Regions from separate parts of the Homo sapiens genome. Here all the other regions are linked to region 1. Evidence: promoter capture Hi-C in human tissues and cell types (Jung and others, 2019). All regions are on one chromosome and are shown on one strand. The core of a region is centred on a gene start or on the middle of the fragment in contact, and the rest is flanking DNA. Distances in the headings are between cores, read along the strand shown.

Region 1 (3,731 bases), core at 546-3,045:
CTTGTGATGGAATCTTTGGTGACAGCTTTATTTGGCTGTCTGGCCTGGTTGCTCCCAAATGGCTCTCACTTGGGCCTCTTTCAGGTGAAGACCATATGCTTCTAGGAGATGTCAGTTGAAATATCATATTTTTGTTGCTTGGGAAAGTTAACTCATGAAAGCCTTTTCAAAATTGAAGTCATTTCAAAAGATCTTATCAAGGTACTCCCAAGATGGTGGAATCCAAGGGTTGCATTTGGAAAAATCTCGAAACTATACAAAAGTAAGAGTGAATAATTTTATAAGCCTGCATATAACCACAATGGAATTAAAACCTAGGGAAGTGGCTAAGTGGGGGCTTGGGCAGTCAGGATAGTTTAGGGCATAGAGAGTTGAGACCCACTTTTAAAAAAATAGAGAGCCAGTCTGTTTCATAGTGTCATTGGATCACTCTCCTGCAACAGATGAGATACTCGTAAATGAGATACTAACCAATATGATCTAGACCGTGGTTTAGTTCTGGCTGCCATAAGAAGGATACCATAGGCTGGGTGACCGAAAGAACAGAAATTTATTTTTCACAGTTCTGGAGGGTAAGAAACCCAAGATCAGTGTGCCAGCATGGTCAGGTTCTGGTGAGGGTCCTCTTCCTGCTTGGCAGAAAGCTGCCCTCGTGCTGTGTCTTTACACTGCACAGAGCAGAGAGAGAGGAGGCAAATTCCCCGCTGCCTGCTCTTATGAGGGAACTAATTCCACCAGGAAGCCTCCACCCCATGAACTAATCAGGTATGAAAGGCCCCACCTCCAGATACCACCACATTAGATTGGGGATTTGGGTTTCAACATATGAATTTTGTAGAGACACAAACATTCAGCCCATAGCAGTGTTAAAAGAAAAACATCAGACAAATTAAATTTAGCACAGTTTATTCGAGCAAAGGGTTCATGAATTGGGCAGCACTCACAACCAGAGGAGGTCCAGTGAGGTCCACCCCATGGTGTGAGCAGCAAAGCCTGATAGGCCAAACTCAGAAGCACAGTGGAGAAACTGATTGGCTATAGCTATGCAGGCTGCCTTGTGGGGCCTGGTATAATGAGTTGGTTGCCCATGATTGGCCAGTAGCCCCCTGTTCATTACAGCCTAATGTAGGTTTCCATTGTTAGGTGGGAACTCAACGTACAGAGACAGCCTCAAGCTAATGGCCTCTTGCTTATTTAAGAGCAGTATGCAAACTTTTCCTGGAAAGTTTCAAATGGTAAATATTTTAGGCCCTGTGGGCTATGCCACCTCTGTCATCACTACTCAATTCTGCCCTTGCAGCCCTAGATCATACAGCCATATGCAGTCACTGATAATACAAAGCCATGGGCATGGAGGTTTTCCAATAAAACTATTTGCAAATACAGGCAGGGGCTAAACGGGTCTCCAGGTAGTAATGTGCTCATGCCTAAAGGTCTCCTAGCCCCTCATACCAGTTCGCTGTCCCTCTGAATCTGGGTTGAAGTAAGCACAGGTTACTGCTTCTGTTCAGTGTCATGATCCACCCAGCAATTCCCCAGTCCCCAGCTTTCTTCATGCGTGGGAGGATCCAGCCAAGCGACTGCACAGTTTTGAAAGTTTTTGAAGCGGCCCCTTTTTCTCCTCTCCTCTCTCCGCAGGCAGAGTTGTGGTGTGGCTGGGTGGTCTGCGTGGGCGTCCGGGGGATTCGCGGGCACTCGGGACGAGGCGAGGGCGCAGAAAACTTGGAGCCCAATCAGCACGGAGTTGAGCTTCCGCGCCCCAACCTTCAGGTGACCCCGCGCGGCGGCGGCGGCAGCAGCAGTGGCAGCGGCGACCGGAGCCCGCAGCAGCTCCGAGCGCCTCCGGGAGGACAGGCGGCGAGCTCGGCGAATCGTCATCTGCCAGCCGATCGCGGCGCTCCGCGGGCCGGGGCCGGGAGCCCGGGGCGAGCCCGAACGCGGCTTCTTCTCCGCCCGCCGCGGAGACTCTGCCGGGTGGGCTGCGGGCGCCCCTCGCTGCCGCCTGTGAACGCTGTGGGTGCGCGGGGCTGCGGCCACGGCGGCGGTGGCGGCGGCGGCGGGAGCCGCGAGTCGGGGCCGCCCGGGCTGTGCTTCGCCCCGGCAGCAGCGGTGGCGGCGGCGCCTGTGGCTCAGGATGCGGCCGGGGGGCGCACTGCTCGCCCTGCTCGCCAGCCTGCTGCTGCTGCTGCTGCTGCGCCTGCTCTGGTGCCCGGCAGACGCGCCCGGCCGCGCCAGGTAACCCACCCACCCGCCGGCCGCGCCCCGCGCCGCGCGCCCCGCCTGGCGCCCCCGGACCCCCAAGCCGCCCATCGCTTCCCCTCGGGCGCGGAGACTTTTGGCCGCGGCGGGGAGCAGCCCACGGGCGGCGACGGCCTGAGAGTGGAGTGGGGGAGGGGGTCGCAGGGAGGCGACCCTCCGACCGGTGGACGGCGGCTGGGGAGCAGAGGGACCGGTCAGGGCTGCGGGGGCTCTAGCGCGCATCGCTGTGGGCGAGGCAGCTGTGGAGCGGGACCTGCCGTCGGGTTCCGCATCAGGATCTCATGCTCCCCATTCTGGTCCTTGCTGTCTCTTCCTTCCCGCCCTAAGGCTCTTCCAACTCTGGGGCTGGGGACCTGGCCTGGGAGCCGGGGAGTGCGAGATCTCCCTGCCAGGCAAGGAGCGCGACTCCCAGCCTTTCAGCCAACAGCTCCCGGCGGGGTGTAGCAACTTAAGTTTTCTCCCCGGCTGTGCAGGATTCTGGTGGAGGAAAGCAGGGAGGCCACCCACGGCACCCCCGCAGCGCTGAGGACGCTCCGGAGCCCGGCGACCGCGGTACCGCGCGCCACTAACAGGTACAGCGGCGCCCAGCGCGGGCGGACTGGGGCTCGGGAGCTGCGAGCCGGGCATGGGGCGCGGCTGCACCGGCTTGGACTCGTTGGGAGTAGGCAGGCTGGGACGGCGCGAGTGAGTGTAAGAGTGTGCGTGTGTTTGAAGAGGGCGCGGGGTTGGGGGGGGGCACCCTTCACACTCCCTCAACCCTCTAAGCCTGGATGTGAATGGTCTTTGAATCAAGGGGGATCCTCCAGCAGCTGCATTTGAAAAACGGGTGCTGAGTTTTCCTCTCGACAATGGTGTGTTGAAAGCACCCCCGCCCCCGACCCCGCCACCTTTGGAGAGAAGCAGCTCAGCCTGTCTTTATGGAGGGATTTGGTTGGTTTGCTTTTTCTTTTCTATGCTTTAAAGGGCACCGGTGTTAAGATTCAGGTTTGTTTTGCGTGCTAGGAATGATTTTGTCCTTAGTGACTGGAGGCTTAAATTTTTTTTCTTATCATTCACATGTGTTTTTATTCATAGGCAGTAATTGTTTTTTTTTCAGATTGTAAAAGTAATACAGCTTTGTGCAGAAAGTTAGAAAATAGAACTGTATAAAAGAAAATGTTATTCATTCAGAGTCCTTACCTCTCAGAGACCATATTCAAGGTGGTTTTGGTCTATATTTCTTCCAGTAGTCTTTTCTATATACATATATTTCAAAAATATAACTTAGATTATACATTGCAGTTTATGTTCTGCCTTTTTTCTAAAAATCCTAGACCTATACCTGTCATTACATTCCCCTCCCCCCACAAAAACATTGCTTTGGATTGTTGCATAACTTATTATCTGAACATGCCATAATCTATTTAATAGTTTCCATTTTCAGACATTTAGGTTGCTTCTTGTTTCTGTTTTATTTTGTTTGCCATCAGTAA
Region 2 (3,731 bases), core at 794-3,293, 99 kb after region 1:
CAACAAGTGATAACAGAGTCTGATTTTGAGAAACCTTTCTGCATATGCAGAATAGACAAAAAAAGAAGAGGGAGAGATTCAGGTAGTGAGCTATTGAGGATCAATCTAAGATAATTAGCTGGAAAGATAGATTTGTAATGACTGTAATGATCAAAGTAGGGAGTATAGGAGCTTTTACTTCTGGCTGTTAAGTTCAGACCAAGCCTCTTGAGAGTAATGAAAATAAAACAAAGTCTACCAAACACCTGTGTGAGGACACTGGAGCAGGTCCTCCCTGCCACGAAGGCAGGGAGAATTTAAAGGACTAAAGCCCAGAAGGTGAAAAGAACCCATCAATTTGGGCTGGTTTTTGTCATAAAGAACTTGCCGAATACAAAAGCAAAATTTGGCTGAGAGGCAGAGAAGCTGAGCAGAGCTTCCAGCAATCCCTGGAAAAACCAGTTTTCAAAAGAACTGAAGGCCAACTTTGAATCCCTGGAAAAACCAGTTTTTAAAAGAACTGAAGGGGCTGGGCGTATGGCTCACGCCTGTAATCCCAGCACTTTGGGAGGCTGAGGCAGGTGGATCACGAGATCAGGAGATCAAAAGCAGCCTGACCAACATGGTGGAACCCCGTCTCTACTAAAAATACAAAAAAAAAAAAAAAAATTAGCCAGGCGTGGTGGCATGCACTTGTAATCCCAACTACTCAGGAGGCTGAGGCAGGAGAATCGCTTGAACTCAGGAGGCAGAGGTTGCAGATTGTGCCATTGCCCTCTAGCCTGGGTGACATGACAGAGAGACTCCGTCTCAAAAGAAAAAAAAAAAAGAACTGAAGGCCAACTTTGAAACATTTCCATCCTGAGCTGGATTTAGATCTGCCCTTAACTTAGATGCCCGATAGGAGCAGAAGGAAATCCCTTCTTGGGGATTCCCTTGGGGGAAGGTAACCTTATTCAGAGCCTTAAATCATCTCTATAAGTATCCACTCACAATGTCTGGCTCCATTTAATAACTTATTATCTGTAAATCTTTTGTCTTCCTTTCCTTTCTTTTTTTTGGACAAAAATCAGTCTCTTCAAATCCAGAGATGTATGAAAGTCACTGCTGCAGATTATGAGGTATAGAATCTGTATAGATGGCTGGTCCATGGAGGGTACAGCCATTATTACCTTAGTACCATTTTCACATTAAAAAAAAATGCATCAGTAACCATGACAATTACTCCAAATGGCCTATCCATCCCTTCAGGGCCAATTTAAGTAAACATCTTAGGCCAGGTGCAGTGGCTCATAACTGCAATCCAAGCACTTTGGGAGGCTGAGGTGGGTGGATCACTTGAGGCCAGGAGTTCGAAACTGGCCTGGCCAACATGGTGAAACCTCATCTCTACTAAAAATATAAAAATTAGCTGGGCATAACGGGGCATACTTGTAATCCCAGGTACTCAGAAGAATCACTGAGGCGGGAGAATCACTTGAACCTGAGAGGCAGAGGTTGCAGTGATCTAAATTGTACCACTGCACTGCAGGCTGGCTGACAGAGTGACTCCACCTCAAAAAAAAAAAAAAAGTAAACCTCTGGGGCTATAATACATTTTGTTGTCATAGAAGAGAACAGGCACACAGACATTTATTTATTGACTTGAATATTTATTATATTGTAATGTTCTTTTTATGGGCATATTTCTAAACTATGCACTGTATAGTTTAGAGCACTGTAGTCTTTTTTTGTTCCTGCTAGAGTGCTGGGCACAAAATAGGGCCTCAACAAAAAAAAATATTAAAGAAATGGATGCATGAAAGTAAACAAAAAAGTGTCATGTTTTCTTACTGAACTCAAAGAATTTATAGTCACTTTAGAAAGACAAGAAATATAAGTATGAATATTTATGATTGAATATCAGAATGAGTGATTTAGACAAATACTGTCATATATTAATGCAAGATCACTGTGGGATATAGTTTTTTGAAATATTTTGTGAAAAGAGGCAGAACTTGAGCTATAACTCTGAAGATGGCTGCAAAGGGAGGGTGAGACCAATTTGGGAGTGATGAGGCCAGGAAGAAAGGCAATAAGATTCAAGGCCAGCTGGGCTGGAGCAATGAACTTGTACTATTAGGTACGCAAGATAAAGAGGATAATTTCAGGTAGACAAGGAAGGATCTGATGCATGGAGATCTGGTTATCAGAGTAAAGTCCACAGACATTCTGTAGCTACCAGGAGCCCAAGAGCAATATTGCTAGCAAAGGAATTACAAATTGAATTTACTGTTTTAGGGAAAGTATTCGGACAGCATAATGAATGAAAGCAAGTTGGAGTATTAGGAGGGAGGGAGTAGTGTAGAAAAATCAGAGCAGGTAGGGGCTGGTTGTAGACAAGTAACTACAGAATGGTGACCAACTACAACATCAACGGTAGCTATGAAAATATCAAGAGAGAGATGCTTGACTATGAGCCCTTTGGGGACATGGCATTATCTTGTTTATCTTTGTATCTCCAGTGCCTATCTCATAGATGGTACCCAATAAATTGCTCTATGACTGAAGACTTGGTAGGACTTGGTTACTTGTTGACTTCCAGTTCTCTCATTGAAGGAGAAGAAAAATAAAGTCAAATGAGAAATCCTGCATCTGAAATACTCATGCTGCTACTGACAGAAAGATTTCAAAGAGAAATTGGATTGAGAAGATAAAAGCATCTTGGACAGGATGTGTTTGAGCTGACTTTAAGACAACTGGATACAGAAGACCTTTTGCTTGGTCTGGGGAAAATATAAATGCTAAGAGAAAATGAATTCTCTCAAAAAAGAAAAGCAACTGCAGTTTAAATCTGGCTTTTGTAAGAGATAGGGCTTCTCCAAGTCTATCTTCTCAGCAATTTTATTTTAACTTTCTTGTTGTGCTACGAGGGGGTTTGTCCTCTTTTTATAGATTCCTAAGCTTTTACTCATTCAGCACTTAATTGTGGGTCTGAGAACTTGGCAGCTTGGCGCTTGAGTCTCAAACTTCCTTCAGCTTTTACCCGGAAACATGAAAGGCTTAACTAGGAAGATTCTTAATCTGAAGTCCATGAAAGCGGTTTCCTAAAACTCTCAAAATTGTGAGATTTTGTACACGTTTCTGGGAAAAGAATCTGTGGCTTTCATCAGATTCTCCAAGAGTCTAGAACCTTCCACATGGACTAATGTATTTCTAAGGATCTTTCTGGCCCTGAGACTCTGGGATTCAATTGCCTATCCAGGATGCCTATCCAATCACCTTCCAAGATGGCATGGTTATCCCAAGCATAGGTGTGAGTCTGGCTCAGATTTACCTGAAATTTACCGCAGATTCTAAGTTTCCGCTATGAATTTACATTTTGTGAGATACTAGTTGAACTCAGTTAAAGAGAGATTTAAGTAAGAGTTGAAGATGTCCTGCTCTCTGTTCTTTCTTGGTATCTAATTTCTTTTAGGTGTAGCAGTACAAAGTCAACAATGTTGAGGTGTCTGCCTTTTCTGCTTTTAAAAGCTTGATTGATTCTCCTATAAGAGGTCCCCACCCCCTTCCCTCCAAGGACAAGCTAATGCACAGAATAATTTGTGAAAAATCTACCTGGATTTCAGTCTAAGAAATTATTGCTCTTCACAGTCTCTCCCTCTGATTTTTAGAAAACTGATGGATAATCATTTGCTTGAGCGTGACACTCAGCTATTTGAGAATAACATTGAGATGGTTAAATTTAAATTAAACATGATATGAGACGCCCT
Region 3 (3,731 bases), core at 346-2,845, 77 kb before region 1:
TTAAAACTTTTCCAAACTATTCATGTATCTGTGGCTTTGTGGGAAACAAAGGCTTTCAAACGAAAGTGAATGAAGTGTACTTTGGTCATCGGTGAGCATACATACCTAGATTGAGAGACTCAGCCCACTGTTGCATGACCATATATACAGAAAAGATCAGGTTTTTTTGTTTTTGAGATGGAGAATCTTGCTCTGTTGCCCAGGCTGGAGTGCAGTTGTGCGATCTTGACTCACTGCAACCTCTGCCTCCTGGGTTCACGCCATTCTCCCGCTTCAGCCTCCCGGGTAGCTGGGATTACAGGTGCCCGCCACCATGCCTGGCTAATTTTTGTATTTTTAGTAGAGACCAGGTTTCGCCATGTTGGCCAGGCTGGTCTCAAACTCCTGACCTCCAGTGATCTGCCCACCTCAGCCTCCCAAAGTGCTGGGATTACAGGCGTGAGCCACTGCACCTGGCCAGAAAAGACCAGTTTTGATGAAGTCATTTAGACTTTAAAATAGAACACGTTATTGTTCATTACTGAGATTGAACATAGATAAAAATGTTTCCCCTCATTTTCAAGATAAAAATATAAATCCAATTAAAAAGAATTAATTCATTACCTTTTTCTTTTTTTGTATCATAATATTAATTTTAATTTTATTAACAATGTTTTTTCTGGCATAATCATACAGAGAGAGTTAAAATCAATTTTCACTGTGTTTATTTTCTGGCCATTATTATGATTTATTTCATTGCACGGCTATTACTAAAAATAATTTTGGCCTCTTGGGGGTGGGTGGGCTAACAATGATATGCTGTTGATGTCAAATATGCTAAGTATGCCACTGCTGAAAGACTCAGCGTTTGAGTTTAGTGATAAAGTGACAAGAGGAAGAAGAAGTATTATAGAAAAGAGAAAAGTAGAAGAGGATTAGTGGTGACTCTGTGATTCCGAGTCCTTGTTTTGTTCAGAGAGTGGCTGCCTATGTGAATTGAAAGAGTCTACCTTCAGCACCATTTTGGTTTCAGGAGTGAGAGGAAAGCCATTGTTTCTTCCATTTGTTGGCCATTCCTTTAACGGGAAAGAAAGCTTTTAATTACACAATCAGAACCATAAGGCATATGGCCGGGCGCAGTGGCTCACACCTGTAATCCCAGCACTTTGGGAGGCCGAGGTGGGTGCATCACATGCGGTCAGGAGTTCGAGACCAGCCTATCCAACATGGTGAAACCCCGTCTCTATTAAAAAAATACAAAAGTTAGCCAGGCGTGGTGGCACACGCCTGTAATCCCAGCTACTTGGGAGGCTGAGGCAGGAGAAATGCTTGAACCAAGGAGGCGGAGGTTGCAGTGAGCCGAGATTGTGCCATTGCACTCTAGCCTGGACAAGAAGAGCAAAACTCCATCTCAAAAATAAATAAATAAATAAATAAATAAATATAAGGCATAAAATGTGGATGCCTTCCATTTCCTTAACAAATATTTTTAACTGTCTAATATATGATAATGTTCTCATCGCTGAAATCCAGCAATGAACCAAACAAAGCCCTGTCTTTAGAGAACTTACATTCTACTGGGGAAGACAGACAATGTAAAAATCAAGTAAGAAATAATGTAGTAACTCAGAATAGGGTAAGTGTGAAAAAAGAAAAATAGAGCAGGAAGGGAGATGGGAATGAGGGGGAGAATATATATATATATACATATTAATACTTTAGTGAGGTATGATTTATACATGTTAAAATGCATAAATCTTAAGTGTACAGCTTGAGATACGTCTACACACACACGCACAGACACAAGTGTGATCTCCATTCACATCAAAATATAAGATAGTTCCATTATCTCAGAAAATTATCTCGTGCCCTTTTGTCATCAGTGCCCACACCCTACATGCAACTTCTCTTCCGATTTCCAACAGCAGAGATTAGTATTACATATTCTTGAACGTCACATGAAATCTTACAATATGTACTTTTTTTGTGTCTGGCTTCTTTCAATCACCATAAATAATATTTTCACGACTCATTCATGTTCTAACGTGTATCTGTTGTTTGTTCTTTTTATCACTGAATAGTATTCCATTGTGTGAATAGACCATAATTAGTTTATGCATTCTCTTGTTGATGGACAATTGAGTTATGTCCACTTTTGACCTATCATGAATAAAGCTTTAATCAGTATTTCTGGAAAAGTCTTTTAGTGGACACACTTACCTGTTTCCCTTGGTTAGGAGTAGAATCTGTGGGTCACAGGTAACTCTGTGTTTAACTTTATCAGCAATTGCCAGTTTTTTCAAAGAGGTTGTACTATTTTACACTCACATCAGCAATATAATTCCACTGCCTCCCACCTACCCCAACATCTGCCGGGCTTGCACTGAATCTAAATATTAGTTTAGGGAGAACTGAAATCTTAATACCCCTAAGCTAGTCCATTCCATGAAGATTGTATATCACTCTTATTATGTCTCCTTTATCTCAGCAATGTTTTTAATTTTTAGGTTTGAGTACTCTCCACTCAAAAGTATTTAATGTCATTTATTCTAAGTGGTAACTTAAAAAAATTTAATTTTCTAATTGTTTTTTGTTGGTATATACAGATATAATTGATTTTTCTGCATTGCCCTTGTAACCCACAATCATGCTAAACTCAAATTAGTTCTAGGAACTTGTTGGTTCCTTAGGATTTCTATGTACAAAGCGATGTTATCTTTGAATAACAGTCTAAATTATTTCTTTCCAATTTTTATTATCTCTTTTTGGTGCCTTATTGCACTGGCTACAACCACTAGTACAATATTGAACAGAAGTGGTAAGAGTAGACATCGTTACTGTATTTCTGACTTAGGAGGACAACATTCAACAGTCTATTATTAAGAATGATAGTAGCTGCACGTTTTTTGTTGCCACGTTTTATCCAGTTGAGAAAATTCCCTCTATTATTGGTTTGTGGGTATCATGGAGTAGTATCCCATCCTGTGAATATAGCATAATTAGTTTATATATTCTCTTGTTGATGGACAATTGACTTTTATCTATGACCCAGTATTGACTTTTTTGTTTGTCTGTTTGTTTTTATTTTGAGATAGAGTCTTGCTCTGTTGCCCAGGCTGGAGTGCAGAGGCTGGATCTTGGCTCACTGCAACCTCCACCAGTTGGCCAGGCTGGTCGCGGACTCCTGACCTCAAGTGAGCCACCTGCCTCAGCCTCCCAAAGTGCTGGGATTACAGGCGTAAGCCACCGCACCTTCCCAGTATTGACTTTTATCTAGAGCTTTATTTTCAGATACTGAGATAATTGAATGTTTTGCCTCTTTATTCTGCTAATGTGGTGAATTACATTGTGTTAGTCCATTTGTGCTGCTATAACAGAATACCACAGACTGGGTAATTTATAAAGAATAGAAATTTATTCTCCCAGTTCTGTAGGCTGGGAAGTTCAAGATGAAAGCACTGTTCTTTCAGGGTGGAAGGTGAAAGCGTGAGGAAAAGGGAACCCACTCCAGCAAGCCCGTTTAATAGCAGCATTAATTCATTCATGAGGGTGGAAGCACCATGTCCTAAATACCTCCCATCAGGCCCCAGTTCTCAGTACTATTGCATTGGGGGTAAAATTTCCAATACATGAATTTTTGAGGAACCATTAAAATCATAGCTGTTAAAGTATTTTTCTATCCTAGAATAAATTGTCCTTTTTGTTGACATATTATCCTTTTTATAATATTACCAAATTTGACTTGTTTATAT

The links. Contacts are between HindIII fragments. The study calls those that stand out against the background at their distance.
Region 2: a fragment that was not itself captured here is called in contact with the fragment with the promoter of ST8SIA6 in region 1 in 2 of the 25 tissues and cell types used here (aorta and spleen).
Region 3: a contact is called between a fragment that was not itself captured here and the fragment with the promoter of ST8SIA6 in region 1, in 2 of the 25 tissues and cell types used here (H1 embryonic stem cells and IMR-90 fibroblasts).

What each region holds. Positions count from the first base shown.
Region 1 is chr10:17,452,659-17,456,389 of GRCh38, reverse strand. It overlaps ST8SIA6 (ST8 alpha-N-acetyl-neuraminide alpha-2,8-sialyltransferase 6), which reads left to right and starts at 1,795. Exons shown (of 8, transcript NM_001004470.3): 1 at 1,795-2,235; 2 at 2,733-2,831. The coding sequence starts at 2,135. The HindIII fragment of the contact is 8,458 bases long and covers 1-3,731 here.
Region 2 is chr10:17,354,210-17,357,940 of GRCh38, reverse strand. The region is part of intron 4 of ST8SIA6 (ST8 alpha-N-acetyl-neuraminide alpha-2,8-sialyltransferase 6); the gene reads left to right. Among named protein-coding and RNA genes, the nearest start is that of ST8SIA6-AS1, 31 kb to the left of the region's middle. The HindIII fragment of the contact is 4,443 bases long and covers 1-3,731 here.
Region 3 is chr10:17,529,845-17,533,575 of GRCh38, reverse strand. No RefSeq gene overlaps it. Among named protein-coding and RNA genes, the nearest start is that of ST8SIA6, 77 kb to the right of the region's middle. The HindIII fragment of the contact is 5,175 bases long and covers 1-3,731 here.